5 separate regions of the Homo sapiens genome follow, and all the other regions are linked to region 5. Evidence: promoter capture Hi-C in human tissues and cell types (Jung and others, 2019). All regions are on one chromosome and are shown on one strand. The core of a region is centred on a gene start or on the middle of the fragment in contact, and the rest is flanking DNA. Distances in the headings are between cores, read along the strand shown.

Region 1 (2,700 bases), core at 75-2,574, 860 kb before region 5:
AATACAAAAATTAGCCAGGCGAGGTGGTGCATGCCTATAATCCCAGCTACTCAAAAGGCTGAGCCACGAGAATCACTTGAGCCTGGGAAGTGGAGGCTGCAGTGAGCCGAGATCCTGCCACTGTACTCCAGCGTGGGTGACAGAAGAACCTGCCTTAAAAAAAAAAAAAAAGAGGTACCAATCTAATAACGAAGTACTGGTCAAAACTCAATTATAAAGACAACTTCATAAAAAAAGATGAAGTTAAGAAAAAACAATCTAAGTGTTCACTTTAAAATCTGATTAATTTCTAAGGCCTAAAAAATGGGATAGTTGTAAAGACAGAAAGGTTTATAATAAGAAAACTGAAAGAATCTAACAAATGGCTGGCTACGGAAAGAGGAAGAAAAGGCACAGATAAATAGACACACACGCATGTACACAAGCATGCACACTTCTGACTTGAATAAATAGTGGTACCAAGAAACAGAGAAGAAAAAGGGTTGAAGGAGAACATGATGAGCTTAGTTCTTAAAATGTTTAAATTGAGGGATCTGTTGGGTGGAACACCCAAGTAACAGTCAATATATCAGTGTATTTGCAGGTCTAAAGCTTAGTAGTGAGGTAGGCTCAGGGTATAAAGGTTGGGAGCCTTTAACATATAGATGGTGATTACAGGTGAAGCCATGACTCTAGGGGATATCACCAGAATGTATTGAGTGACCAGAGGAATAAGAACAGAAATGTAAGGAACCCTAACATTTAAGGAATGGGCAGAGGGAGTGGAGCCAAAGTGGAAAATGAGACTGGAGAGTCAGAGCTAAGAAAAGGCCAAAAGACAGCAAAGCATCACAAAATTTCAGAAGAGAGTATCTTAAGAATGATGACATGGCTAACTCGTCAAATACTGCTGGGGAGTCAAGTAAGACTGGAAAAAAATACATTAGGGAGAAAAGTCCATTGGACTTAACAAGTAAGAGGCTAACGGCCTTGCTGAGGGCCGTTTCAGTAGATTGGCAGGGGAAGATGCCAGATTAGTTGACGAACGTGTGGGAGGTGAGCTGAATGTGGTACTATTTCAAGAAAAAGTTGGTTGTGAAACAGAAGACATGTGCACCAGGAGAGAAATATAATGCATTTTGTTTTCTTCTTTTACTGTAAGTGCTTATCTAAACCCCTCAATGAAATATGCAGGGAAACAGACATATACTGCTGGTAAGACTACAACCTGGAACATCTTCAAAGTTCAATAATGCAGAATTTATGAAAATTAAATTTATAGATACCCTCAGACCAAGCAATTCCACTTTTGCATATTTAGCCTATAAATATATATTTGTCTGTAACTGAAGTGTGCAAGGATTTACAATACCACATTCTTTTTTTTTTTTTTTTTTTTTTTTTTGAGACGGAGTCTCGCCCTGTCGCCCAGCCTGGAGTGCAGTGGTGTGATCTTGGCTCACTGCAAGCTCCGCCTCCCGGGTTCACACCATTCTCCTTACAATACCACATTGTTTCTAATAGCAAAACACTGGAACCAACCTAAATATCCAGCAAAACAGGACTAAACAAATTACTAAAAAGTCCCTGCAATGGAATACTCATTTCACAAACTTTGTAAGTTTAAGTTATATAACTTTAAGATCAAACCTGTCCGTAACATACAAGAAAAGAAAATTAAATCTGATCTCATTCATGCAGAGGCAAAAATCCAAAACAAAATCATAGCAACCTAAATCCAAATTTCAAAGAGTGTGCATCATGACCAAACTGAATTTATTCTAGAAATGCAAAGTTAGTTCAATATTTGAATACTGATCAGCTATAATTCATCACATTCTTCAGGGAGAAAAACTGTGTGACCATTTCAATAGCTGCAGAAAAAGCATTAGATTGGCTGGGCACAGTGGCTCACACCTGCAATCCCAGCACTTTGGGAGGCCACGGTGGGTGGATCGTGAGGTCAGGAGTTCGATACCAGTCTGGCCAGATGGTGAAATCCCATCTCTACTAAGAACACAAAAACTTAGCCAGGCATGGTGGCACACGCCTGTAATCCCAGCTACTTGGGAGGCTGAGGCAGGAGAATTGCTTGAACCCGGGAGGTGGAGGTTGCAGTGAGCCGAGATCATGCCACTGCACTCCAGCCTGGGCGACAGAGCGAGACTCCATCTCAAAAAAAAAAGCATTAGATAAAAATTTAAAACCACTTATGTTAACAACACTGTACAACTAAGGAAGCTTCCTTAACCTGATAAAGACTATACACTAGAAATATACAGCAAACAGTTTATCTAATGGTGAACTATTAGGAACACGTCCTTTAGAGACAAGAGTAAGACAAGGATATCACTATCACTATAACTAATATATTAAGACATGAAAAATACAGAAAAAGCACATAAAGACTGTGAAATGTCAGAAACAAACTGCTGGGGAGTCAAGTAAGTAATTACAGCTTGTAATTACTTATATATGATGCCTGTCTAAACAGAAAATCCTAGACAATCTAAAATGTGTCTGAATAAAGTCTGATAAGGCTTCTGGGAACAAGATGAATATCTAAAACAACTGTATTGAGTTCAACAACATAAAAAATTAGAAAATGTCATTTTAATTATAATTTATCAAGGGATCAAAAACTGTTATTACTCTAAGAATCTAACAAAAAATGTACAAAAACCATTAGGGAGAAAACTATCTGACTTACTGAAAGACATT
Region 2 (2,700 bases), core at 109-2,608, 540 kb before region 5:
GAGGCAGGGGAATTGCTTGAACCCAGGAAGCGGAGATTGCAGTGAGCCGAGATCACGCCACTGCACTCCAGCCTGGAGACAGAGCAAGACTCTGTCTCAAAAAGAGAGGAAAAAAAAAAAAAACCCAAAAAAAAGGAAAAAAAGAAAAAAGACACCATTTATTTGCTCATCCATAAGAAGCAACTCCCTGGGCTGGGTGCAGTGGCTCACATCTGTAATCCCAGCACTTTGGGAGGCCGAGGCAGGCAGATCACGAGGTCAGGAGATCGAGACCATTCTGACTAATACGGTGAAACCCTCTCTCCTACTAAAAATACAAAAAATTAGCCAGGCGTGGTGACAGGCACCTGTAGTCCCAGCTACTCAGGAGGCTGAGGCAGGAGAATGGGGCGTGAACCTGGGAGGCGGAGGTTGCAGTGAGCCAAGATCGCGCCACTGCACTACAGCCTGGGCGACAGAGAGAGACTCTGTCTCAAAAAAAAAAGAAGCAACTCCGAGCGTCACTTCTATAATAAGTCTAGTTATCTTGTTATTTATTTGTACCTCATCTGCAGGACTTCCTCCACCCAAGTCTTGATGCCTTCAAAGTCATCCATGAAGGTTGGAACCAACTTCTTCAAAATTGGTTGTTAATGTTAGTATTTCAGCCTCCTCCCGTGAATCACTAATGTTCTTAATGGCATCTAGAATGGTGAACCCTTTCCAGAGGGTTTTCAATTTACTTTGCCCAGATCCACCAGATGTGTCATTGTCTATGAGAGCTATGGCCTTACAAAAGCTGCTTTTCTTTTCTATAGTGTTACAACCATAACACTATAGAAATCATCAAATCCAGCTATATACATATAGCTGGGCCTTGTTTTTAATCCAATGGGCCCCTCTGTCTTTTGATTGGAAAATTTAATCCATTTACATTTAAAGTGATTATTGATTTTTAAGAATTATTATTGCTATTTTGGTAATTGTTTTCTAATTTGTAGATCCTTTGTTCCTTTCTTCTTCTGTTGCTGTCTTCCTTTGGGATTTGATGTTTTCTGTAGTGGCATTGATTTCTTTCTCTTTCTGTTTTGTGTATTTAGTGTAGGTTTTTGCTTTGCAGTTACCATGAGGCTTACCTAAAACATCTTATGGTTATAACAGTCTATTTTCAGCTGGTAACAACTTAACTTTTATGACGTACTAAAACACTACTTTTAATCCTCCTCCCACTTTATGTTTTTGATGTCACAATTTACATATTTTCATATTGTGTATCCATTAACAAATTATTGTAGCTATAGTTATTATTAATGTTTTTGTCTTTTCCTACCTCTTTCTAAAGCCTCTCTAATGTCTCCTCATTTCCCAAATTATGGGCCTTTGCAATTCCTACCCCTCTTCTGACCATTGGCATCACCCTGTCTAGACTATGAGCTCATGGAAAGCAGGGGCTGAGTCTCTTTTGTGCTTGGCCCATGGAAGGTGCTTGATCAAAGTTTATTCCTTTATCCTTGTTTTTGTCTTGGGAACATTTCCGCTTCAGCCTATCCTCATTTTTGGCACAAATGATTAGAATTGCAAGAACGTCTCACTGGTTCACCTGCCTCTTTGTCTCCTGAAGGACACTAGGGTTCGGAGAGCCAATGGTCCAATCAAGTGGCCAGGCCTGTGTCCTCTCTTCCTTACCCCTCAGTGGGCACACTGCCCTCTCTTCCTTAACCTTCAGTGGGCACACTGCCTTCTCTTCCTTACCCCTCAGTGGGCACACAGCCTCTGCCTCGGGATGCTCCTTCTGCTTTGGCTTCCTTTGCTTTGGCTTCTGCTGATTCTGTCCTTTTTCTCCAGCTTCTGCTGCAGTGGTCAGGTCTGTTGTTCTGCTGCAGTGGTTTGGTCTGCTGTCCTGCTGCAGTGGTCAGGTCTGCTGTCCTGCTGCAGTGGTCAGGTCTGCTGTTCTGTGTTCTGCTGCAGTGGTTTGGTCTGCTGTCCTGCTGCAGTGGTTGGGTCTGCTGTCCTGCTGCAGTGGTTGGGTCTGCTGTTCTGCTGCAGTGGTCGGATCTGCTGTTCTGTGTCCTGCTGCAGTGGTCAGGTCTGCTGTTCTGTGTTCTGCTGCAGTGGTCGGGTCTGCTGTTCTGCTGCAGTGGTCAGGTCTGCTGTTCTGCTCTCTCTCCTCTTGTGTCTGCTGCTTTGCGTTGGCTTCAGCTTCTGCTTTCTTCTGCCTTGTGCTTTGGCTTCTGCCTTTTCTGCTTCTGCTTTTTTCTCAGCTGCTTTTTCTGTTTCTGCTTCTCATCCTCCCTCTACTACGACTTCCCCAACCCAGTCTTGCTCTTCCGCCCTCTCTTCCCCACTCTTCCGCCCTCTCTTCCCCCTTCTTCTGCTTCCCATGCTTCTTCTACTGCTGTCTCTGCTGGTGCTTCTTCTTAGCTGTTGCTTCTCTCTTCTGCTTCTCTTTCCTCCTGTGCTTGCTGCTTCTGCCTCTGCTTTTCCTGCTGGTGCTTCTTCTGCAACATATTCATCTACTTCTCCTTCTGCTTTTTCTTCCTTTTCCTCCTCCTCTTGCGCTTTTCCTCCTCCTCCTCCTGCCTTTTCTGCTGCTTCTCTTCGTTCTGCTGCTGCTACTTTGGCTTGTTTCCATTTCTCTGCTCTGACTTTTGCTTTTGCTGCTTCTCCTTCTGCCGCAGCTTCTCCTTCCTCCACTGTGACTATGTCTCCCTCTTCCCTCCC
Region 3 (2,700 bases), core at 79-2,578, 630 kb before region 5:
TTAATCACAACTGGCTGGGCATGGCGGCTCACCCCTGTAATCCCAGCACTTTGGGAGGCCAGGGTGGGCGGATCACAAGGTTAAGAGATCGAGACCATCCTGGCCAACAAGGTGAAACCCCGTCTCTACTAAAAATGCAAAAATTAGCTGGGCGTGGTGGTGCGTGCCTGTAATCCCAGCTACTCGGGAGGGATTACAGCTACTGAGGCAGGAGAATTGCTTGAACCTGGGAGGCAGAGGTTGCAATGAGCCAAGCTCGTGCCACTGCACTCCAGCCTGGTGACAGAGACTCCATCTCAAGACCAAAAAAAAAAAAAAAAATTTAATCACAACCACCAAGACCCTTTTTCCATATAAGGTAACATTTGCAGTTTCCAGGGATTAGGGCCTGATATATTCAGGAACCATTGTTCAGCCTCCTACACTGCATCTCCACAAGCTTCATGACAATTCTTACAAGAAACTATGGGTTTTGGAGATGGCCCTCAGTCGGGGAGCTGCTCCCAGTCACTGGACAAGCTGGCTCACGTAAAGAAGCAATGGGAGGCTGGGTGCGATGGCTCACACCTGTAATCCTAGCATTTTGGGAGGCCGAGGCGGGTGGATCATTTGAGATCAGGAGTTCGAGACCAGCCTGGCCAACATGGTGAAACCCTGTCTCTACTAAAAATACAAAAAATAGCCAGGCATAGTGGTGGGTGCCTGTAATCCAGCTACTTGGGAGGCTGAGGCAGATCACTTGAGCCCAGGAGGCGGAGGTTACAGTGAGCAGAGATCACGCCACTGCACTCCAGCTTGGGCGACAAAACAGGACTCTTGTCTCAAAAAACAAGCAAACAAACAAACAAAACAGAAGCAATGGGAAGAGTGTGGGCTCTGGAGCCTGCTGATCTTACACTGGAATTTTCCCTCCGCATTGCAGCAGCTGTGCTGTGACTTGGGGCAAAACACTGGTCCTCTCTGCACTTGTGTGTTCCTTTCTGTAAAAGGAGGAAGGTCAGCTAATGGGGGGGAGACATGCAGCTCAGTTCTTGGTTCTCATCCCTACCTATCCTCTGTTGGGGATCTCATTGGGTCTCTGGCTTTAACTACTGTCCCTGTACCTGCACCTCCCGAATGCGCAGCTCCAGGTCCCTCCTTCTCAAACTTTAGACTCACATACGCAGCTGCCTACTTGATAACTTGACGTCTCCCCTGCATGCCTAATGCACACGTCTAAAGCCAAACTCCTGGCTCTCCCTCACAGGGCTCTTCCACCGCAATCATCCTTGCTTCAGCTGACTTGCCGTCCTGGTCCTGGGGGCCCAAGCCCCAGTGCCTGCGCCACTCTATTACAAAGACACCTCTAAAGGGTGAAGAGTGCCGTCTTTCTACCAGGCTGTGAGCTTCTTGCAGCCAGGGTTGTTTAGTTTACACTTGCATCCTCAGCTTCTAGCTCAGTGCCTGGCACATAATAAGGAAAATATTTACTGAATGAATGCACTGATTTTTTGATTTTTTTTTTTTTTGAGACTGTCTTGTTCTGTCTGTTGCCCAGGCTGGAGTGCAGGGGTGTGATCTTGGCTCACTGCAACCTCTGCCTCCTGGGATTACAGGTGCGTAACACCATGCCCGGCTAATTTTGGTATTTTTAGTAGAGACGGGGTTTCACCATGTTGGCCAGGCTAGTCTTAAACTCCTGACCTCAAGTGATCCACCCGCCTCAGCCTCCCAAAGTGCTGGGATTACAGGCGTGAGCCACCATGCCTGGCCGGATATGCTGATTTTTAAACAAGCCATAAAAATACAACATGTACTACAGCAGGGGCATCTTTAAAGTACATTGACGACACCCCGCATTGTGGGCGGGGGTGTGTGGGGGAAGGTTTCCAAGAAATAATGCATAAGCTGGGCCTTGGAGAATGTTTGCTTTTGGCAACAAGGCCATGGCAGCAGCTCTGCAGAGGCCCTTGGAGGCGGCAAGAGATGGTATAGGGAGAAAGGCAAATAGCAGAGGGAGGGCAGCACCTGCAGGAGGGGAGGCGAGACGGTCAGCGTTCGGTAGCGAGGGAGTCGGGACTTCATCCTGCCGTGAACACTTTGGACGGTATCTTCTAACTAGCTCCCTCTGGGTCATTAGAACCCTGCCCAGGTTCTCCCTGTACTTTCCACAGGGCTCTGCACGTGGTCGGCCCTCAGGAAATGAATCAGTTCCTTAACCAGGCTCCTCAGAGGTCCAGCAGCTGCCCAGGAGCTAAAGATAATGTTTTTGGCCATGGTTCAGAGTTAGCCAAAAAGAAAAACTAACAAGAGGACCGCAGCACTTGTCCTCCTGGACAGTGGGCAGTGATGTGACTGCTCAAAGGCATTTCCTGTTGGCAGAGGTGGCAGGACCTCAGGCACCGTCCTTCTGAAGGAAAGGCTGCAGCGGCCTGGGCGGCCCTACGGGAGTGGGCAGCCAATGGTGACCATAAATCCCAGCCGCCTGGCGGAGACAGGCCAGCAGCTCAACAGCTTTCTCTTCTGGGAGGGCACGTTGCTTGAATCCGGGAGAGGGAGGTTCCAGTGAGCCGAGATCATGCCACTGCACTCCAGCCGGGGCGACAGAGTGAGACTCCGTCTCAAAAAAAAAAAAAAAAAGAAAACCAGAAATACCAGAGACAGTAATTTATAAAGAAAAGAGGTTTAATTGGCTCACGGTCCTGTAGATGGTACAGGAAG
Region 4 (2,700 bases), core at 90-2,589, 550 kb before region 5:
CATCCTGCCTCTAGTTGTTCAGCTTTGGACCAACTAGGTTTTCACTTCAGCGTGACACATCGGTGTGGTGAGTTTCAGAGCAAGGATTTACAAAAGGGGATACTGTTATACTGGACCCCTGTTAATGTCAACAGGGACAGCACCAGGCTTGACAAGCCAAAAAAGAGACCCAGAACCAGCGAATGAGACACATGGTTTTATTAGGGGGAATTACACACAAGGATGGTGCAGTGGCGGCAGGCTGAACAGAACTGCCACAGCCTCCAGAAAGCGTGCAGTTAACACAACATTTTTACCTCATATGCTCCCCTTAATGACCTCCACCTGGCAACCTCCATTTAACCCAAAACAAAGAGCTTCAGTCCCCTGTATGGTCCACCTTCGATTGGATGGCTGGGGGCTCAGATGTTCCTCATAGGTAAGGAATGACTCTCTGGGTTGGCCACACTCAGAACTCTGAACACATATTCAAGTGTATCTGCCATACAGAGCCATTCTCTGTGTATGCTTAAGAAGTTATTGCTATCAGGCATGTCTACCATACAAAGGTGTGTCTACCATACAAGGGGCTTGGAAGGGGTCTTGGGAAGAAAAATATGAGTTCAATATGGTGCCTGCAGAATTGGCAAATACGTGACTCCAGTAAAACCACCCAGGGCAGACATCAGTAATCTATCAGGACATTCCTTCCCATTAAGCCTGAACATGGCTTCTTAAGACTCTGATCCAGGCAGCCATGAACGTTCAGCAGAGCGGGAACTCCTGTTAATGAGGCCTAGCCTTACTGAATGCCTGCTATGTGCCAGGCACTTGCTACCTTCACTATCGCAGTACTTCTGCGTAACTCCAAGCAGCAGGCACTGTTAACCTCATTTTACAGATGAGCAAACAGGCTTAGAGAAGTTTCTATCTTGTCTCTCCAGAATGAATCTAAGATTTGAACCTAGGCAGTACAACTCCAGAGGGACAGCTTTGTTTTCAGCTCTTTGTTGCCTTCCACCCCTGATCTGCTACTACTGCCTGCTGCCTTTCTAGGTGCAGAGTCAATGTGACTTGAGGGCGAGAATGAGTTCACATCTCCTGGCTGCTCCTCTAGCTCCCCTAATGGTACACAGCCAATGGTCACAGGCCTCATTTCACAGAAGGAAGCACAGATGGGCTGTGACATTCCAAGGAAACAGCTTAAATGACGGGAAGAAATGGAAATGGGAATAGTTAATTTCCCAACCCAGACCTCTAGGTCAGCCCAGGGACCCCAGGGACTGGGGAAGTTTTAAAAAATGCCTCTTCTTGTTCCTCAAAGCCTAACATGGTTTAATTTTGCAAATACACCTAGGGCCTGGGTCTGAAGAGTAACACAAGCAATAGCTCTGCCTAAAACCTATCTTGGATTTTGTACAAGAAAGTTGTGAAGAAGTAAGAGTGACTGGTGTTAAATGATCATCTCATAGGAATTACTACAGAATTTGACCATCAGCCTGGGCTCCTTTTTGTGCTTCCTGGGACCATCTAAATTAGTAGTTACAACGTTAAGTTACAATGCTAAATTGGAAAAATAAAAGGAGTTTTCAGTTGTGTGTGTGTGTGTGTGTGTGTGTGTGTGTGTGATAATCTATCAAGCTTCTTTAGGAGAAAAACATTAGTTGATTACATTTATTTATTTATTTATTTAGAGATGGAGTCTTGCTCTGTCTCCCAGGCTGGAGTGCAGTGGTGTAATCTCGGCTCACTGCAACCTCTGCCTCCCGGGTTCAAGTGATTCTCCTGCCTCAGCCTCGGAGTAGCTGGGACCACAGGTGCGCACTAACATATCCAGCTAATTTTTGTAGTTGTAGTAAAGATGAGGTTTCACCATGTTGTTCAGGCTAGTCTCGAACTCCTGGCCTCAAGTGGATCTGCCTGCCTTGGCCTCTCAAAGTGTGTGAGCCACCCCGCCTGGCTGATTACACTTTAAATACTATGTTTGCTGTTTCTAAACAGGCATAAAATGGGCTTACTGTTAAAAATGTGGAATCAAATCTGAAAAAAACCCACAAGGATAGTGTCTTTTTCATCTCTGTTGGTCTTAAAAACATTAAAAACGACAACCTAATTAGCTACGTCATTTTCTTTTGACTGTGGGCAGGTGGCTTTCTTTCTGGTATTCTAGAGAAGGATTAAGGATCTAAATAGATTTGCAGATAGACTGGTACAAATGTCTCCATTGTCTGCCTCCTAGGGATGGAGATCAAGAATCCCTACAGGTGGTTTATGAGGTGTACCGGTTTGAATATAACCCCACAAGATCAATATCCTCCTGGAAGCTGTGAATGTGACCTTCCTTGGAAATAGGGCCTTTACATATGCAATCAAGTGAAGATGAGGTGATATAGGATTAGGGTAGATAGACCCTAAATGAAAAGCTTGGTGTCCCTATAAGGAGAGAGAGACACAGGGGAAAAGGCCATGTGATAACACACAGGCAGGGATTGGAGTGATGCAGCTACAAGCCCAGGGGAGACAAGGATCCATGGCCACCACCAGAAGCTGGGAAGAGCCAGGGAAAGGATTCTCCCCTAGAGACTTCAGAGGCAGCATGGCCCTGCTGACACCTTGATTTTGGACTTCCAGCCTCCAGAAGTGAATAGATTTCAGAACAGAATAGATTTCGATTATTTTCAGGCACCAAGTTTGTGGTACTTTGTTATGGCAGCCCTAGAA
Region 5 (2,700 bases), core at 174-2,673:
CTGGCCTCGGATCCCCTCTGTACAACTATTAGGTCAAAATCAAATAAGCAATTTGACCTAGGCAATTCACACTATGTCAGAAACACATCTCAGACAAGGAGAGCCAGGCAGTGAAGACAGATGATAAACAGAGATGGAAGCTGTCATGGAGGCAGACTGGTCCAGCCTGGGACAAGGCGGCCAGCTGTGCTCTCCCCAGATCATATCTGTTCCTCTTGAGCTTTCTCTTCCTCATTCGGAGGAACTCCAGGCTTCTCTAAATGGGTTCATGACCCTTGGAGGAAGGGGAAAAAGGGACACAGAGAGGAGATAAGATGGTTCACAATGAGTTTGACCAGATCCTACTGAAATACCTTAAGAGCAATGAGAAGTGTCACTGCAACTTCAACACTTCCAGAGGCCTCACCAAGGCCCTCTCCAGTTGCTCAGGATGACTACTGGTGACCAGTCCCATCCTCAGAAGTCAAAAACTGAGGAACATAAACAGAGGTGCAGACTCTGAAGGCAGTGCTGAACCCTGCAACGTTAGCAAAATGGGGGCGCGCGGACTCTCCTGGGGGCTGCGCTTAACTGGGGGAGAGGAAAACGAGGCGGTCATTAAAAACGCAGCTCCACTCCTCAGCACCAGCTGAGGGCGTCTGGCTCCCGGACACGCCCCCGAACGAGCCCTCCCGCAGGTTGTGAACACTACATTGCAAGCGGGCAGCTCAGGGAAGATCCTACCCGCTAGTTCCCCGGATCCCCTCCGGGAGCGCAAACTGACCTCGCCTAGGATGGGGTGGGCCACCCACCGGGAGCCCCCAGCCGCGGCCCGCTCACCTTGCACTTGAAGCCAGCGGCGGGCGGCAGGAGCTCCCGCAGCAGGCCCTTGGCCACCTCGCGGCTGGCCTCCTCGCTCACGAAGTGAAGGTTAAGCACCTCGTGCGCCTCGAACTTGGCGAGGCGCAGCAGTGAGCGCAGCGCGACGCGGGCCTTGGCCTGCAGCGCGGCATTGTGCTCCGCCTTGGTGAACATCATCAGCAGGTGGTAGTCCACCGGCCCGGCACCGCCGCCCTCCAAGCTCTTGGCCTTCGCGCCGGGGGCTGGCGCCACGGAGCCCCGCGCTAGCTCCAGCGCGGGCGGCGAGGGCGCGGCGGGAGCCCCGGCGCGGGCCTCCTTCAGCCTCTTGGTGGCGCTGGAGAAGGTCTCCCGGCCTGAGCCGAGGTAGTAGAAGGCGCAGACGGCCAGCGCCGCGGCCAGCAGCAGGGCGCAGTAGTGGGAGCGCACAGCGCCCAGGCGCGCCATGGCCCGAGCGCATGGGAGCCCGCCTCGGAGGAGGCCCATGCGCTACGAGACCGCGGCGCCAGCGGTGCCAGCAACGCGGGAGAGCCCTCGGGTACCCGGACGCCGGCGGCCACTTAGCCCCGGCGCCAGGCGGCGGCCATGAAAGGGGCGGGGCCGCGCCGCCTGGAGCCAATCGCGGGCGCCGGTGCGCGGAGGGGCGGGGCCGGGCGTGCCGAAACCGCTGGGTCCTAGGTTCCAAGGGTATTAGAGGAGGGGTTAGGGTGGGATCCGGCGCCCGGCGTTGGGAGGGGGGGATTCCGGACTCCAGCGTGCTGAGGGCTGGCCCGCTGTCCCGGCTGAGAAATGGCGCCCTACGCGGCGAGCCCCAGAGGATATCCAAGCTGAGTGTTGAAGGGAATGGAGGCGCCCGAACAGAGGAACTTAGGTTAGCCAAAAGCGAAGCTGGAGGCACCAAGAGGTAAAACTTTAATCTCTGCACCTTTTTTCCCTCAATTTCTTGGAGGCTTTAAGCCGTCTCGGCCTCTCCCTGCACACGAGCTGCAGCTAGGCAATTTAAACCGGCAGCTCCTCCCTTTTCCCCCGCCCTGGGAGGAAATGGCCCGGGCCGCACGTCGCGCCGGAGGCCGAGCGGAGGGAGGCTGGAGGATGTGGCCAGCAGGGGGCCCCCGCCGCCCGCACGAACCTGCGAGGCTGCTCCCCGAGCCCCAGCACCGCAAAGCCCTGGAGGGCGACATTCATCCACTTTTGTTTTATAAACAGACTTTTAACACTTTATCAAGAGCCTCCTTGAGGGTACCAGGGAGTTTTGCACGCCGAGGTCACGTGCCCAAAGTCACACAGCTAGCCAGTAGCAATTTTGACCCTAGGCAGTTGCACACTGCTAACTAGATAAAAACGTACTAACTTCAGTCTTCTAAGAATTGAGGCTATACCAGTAGTTTTTAAGTAAACACGTGCAAGTGCTGTGCATGCTGTCTAAATAGACAAAGAACTTGAGTAAGTACAGTAACCCTTCAGTTCTTTGGCCAAGTTCTCTGATTTCTGACCAGAGATTAGGTAAACGGTTTTTCCTGTTATTTCCACATTGTAAGGTTGCATGGATTATCCAACCTCTCTGCTTCAGACCTTGGCTTACATGTCACTACCTACACAAATGATCTCTAAATACCTCCTATCCAGTGTCTGGGCTAAGTGCCATCCTCAATAATTCTGTGAGGGCCACCTAAATATATGTACTACCCTAGTCTCATCTTTCTTCATTGCAAGAACACGTGACTCCAAGAGAACAGAATATACATTTGTTTTTTATTAACCACAATATACCCAGTACCTAACACGGTGCCTACCACATTGGATGAGTCTCAAAAATATACTCAACCATTGAAACAGCATTTTTATTTCTAGAAAATCTTCCTA

Evidence for each region. The method cuts DNA at HindIII sites, captures the fragments that hold promoters and counts their contacts. A contact is called where the count stands out against the background at its distance.
Region 1: a contact is called between a fragment that was not itself captured here and the fragment with the promoter of XXYLT1 in region 5, in 1 of the 25 tissues and cell types used here (spleen).
Region 2: a contact is called between a fragment that was not itself captured here and the fragment with the promoter of XXYLT1 in region 5, in 1 of the 25 tissues and cell types used here (dorsolateral prefrontal cortex).
Region 3: a contact is called between a fragment that was not itself captured here and the fragment with the promoter of XXYLT1 in region 5, in 1 of the 25 tissues and cell types used here (lymphoblastoid cells).
Region 4: a contact is called between a fragment that was not itself captured here and the fragment with the promoter of XXYLT1 in region 5, in 1 of the 25 tissues and cell types used here (dorsolateral prefrontal cortex).

The regions. Positions count from the first base shown.
Region 1 is chr3:194,414,304-194,417,003 of GRCh38, forward strand. The region is part of intron 31 of ATP13A3 (ATPase 13A3); the gene reads right to left. Among named protein-coding and RNA genes, the nearest start is that of GP5, 16 kb to the left of the region's middle. The HindIII fragment of the contact is 3,257 bases long and covers 1-2,700 here.
Region 2 is chr3:194,734,459-194,737,158 of GRCh38, forward strand. All of the region lies in intron 1 of LINC01968 (long intergenic non-protein coding RNA 1968), which reads left to right. All of the region lies in intron 2 of LOC105374292 (a long non-coding RNA gene), which reads left to right. Among named protein-coding and RNA genes, the nearest start is that of LINC01968, 27 kb to the left of the region's middle. The HindIII fragment of the contact is 7,852 bases long and covers 1-2,700 here.
Region 3 is chr3:194,638,145-194,640,844 of GRCh38, forward strand. All of the region lies in intron 1 of TMEM44-AS2 (TMEM44 antisense RNA 2), which reads left to right. LSG1 (large 60S subunit nuclear export GTPase 1) reads right to left here. Exons shown (of 14, transcript NM_018385.3): 14 at 2,647-2,700. Among named protein-coding and RNA genes, the nearest start is that of TMEM44, 6.1 kb to the left of the region's middle. The HindIII fragment of the contact is 4,197 bases long and covers 1-2,700 here.
Region 4 is chr3:194,717,183-194,719,882 of GRCh38, forward strand. The region is part of intron 1 of LINC01968 (long intergenic non-protein coding RNA 1968); the gene reads left to right. The region is part of intron 2 of LOC105374292 (a long non-coding RNA gene); the gene reads left to right. Among named protein-coding and RNA genes, the nearest start is that of LINC01968, 10 kb to the left of the region's middle. The HindIII fragment of the contact is 3,412 bases long and covers 1-2,700 here.
Region 5 is chr3:195,269,736-195,272,435 of GRCh38, forward strand. XXYLT1 (xyloside xylosyltransferase 1) reads right to left here and starts at 1,424. Exons shown (of 4, transcript NM_152531.5): 1 at 820-1,424. The coding sequence starts at 1,323. RefSeq lists an enhancer at 663-1,454 and silencers at 705-884, 1,045-1,574, 1,825-2,054. The HindIII fragment of the contact is 18,362 bases long and covers 1-2,700 here.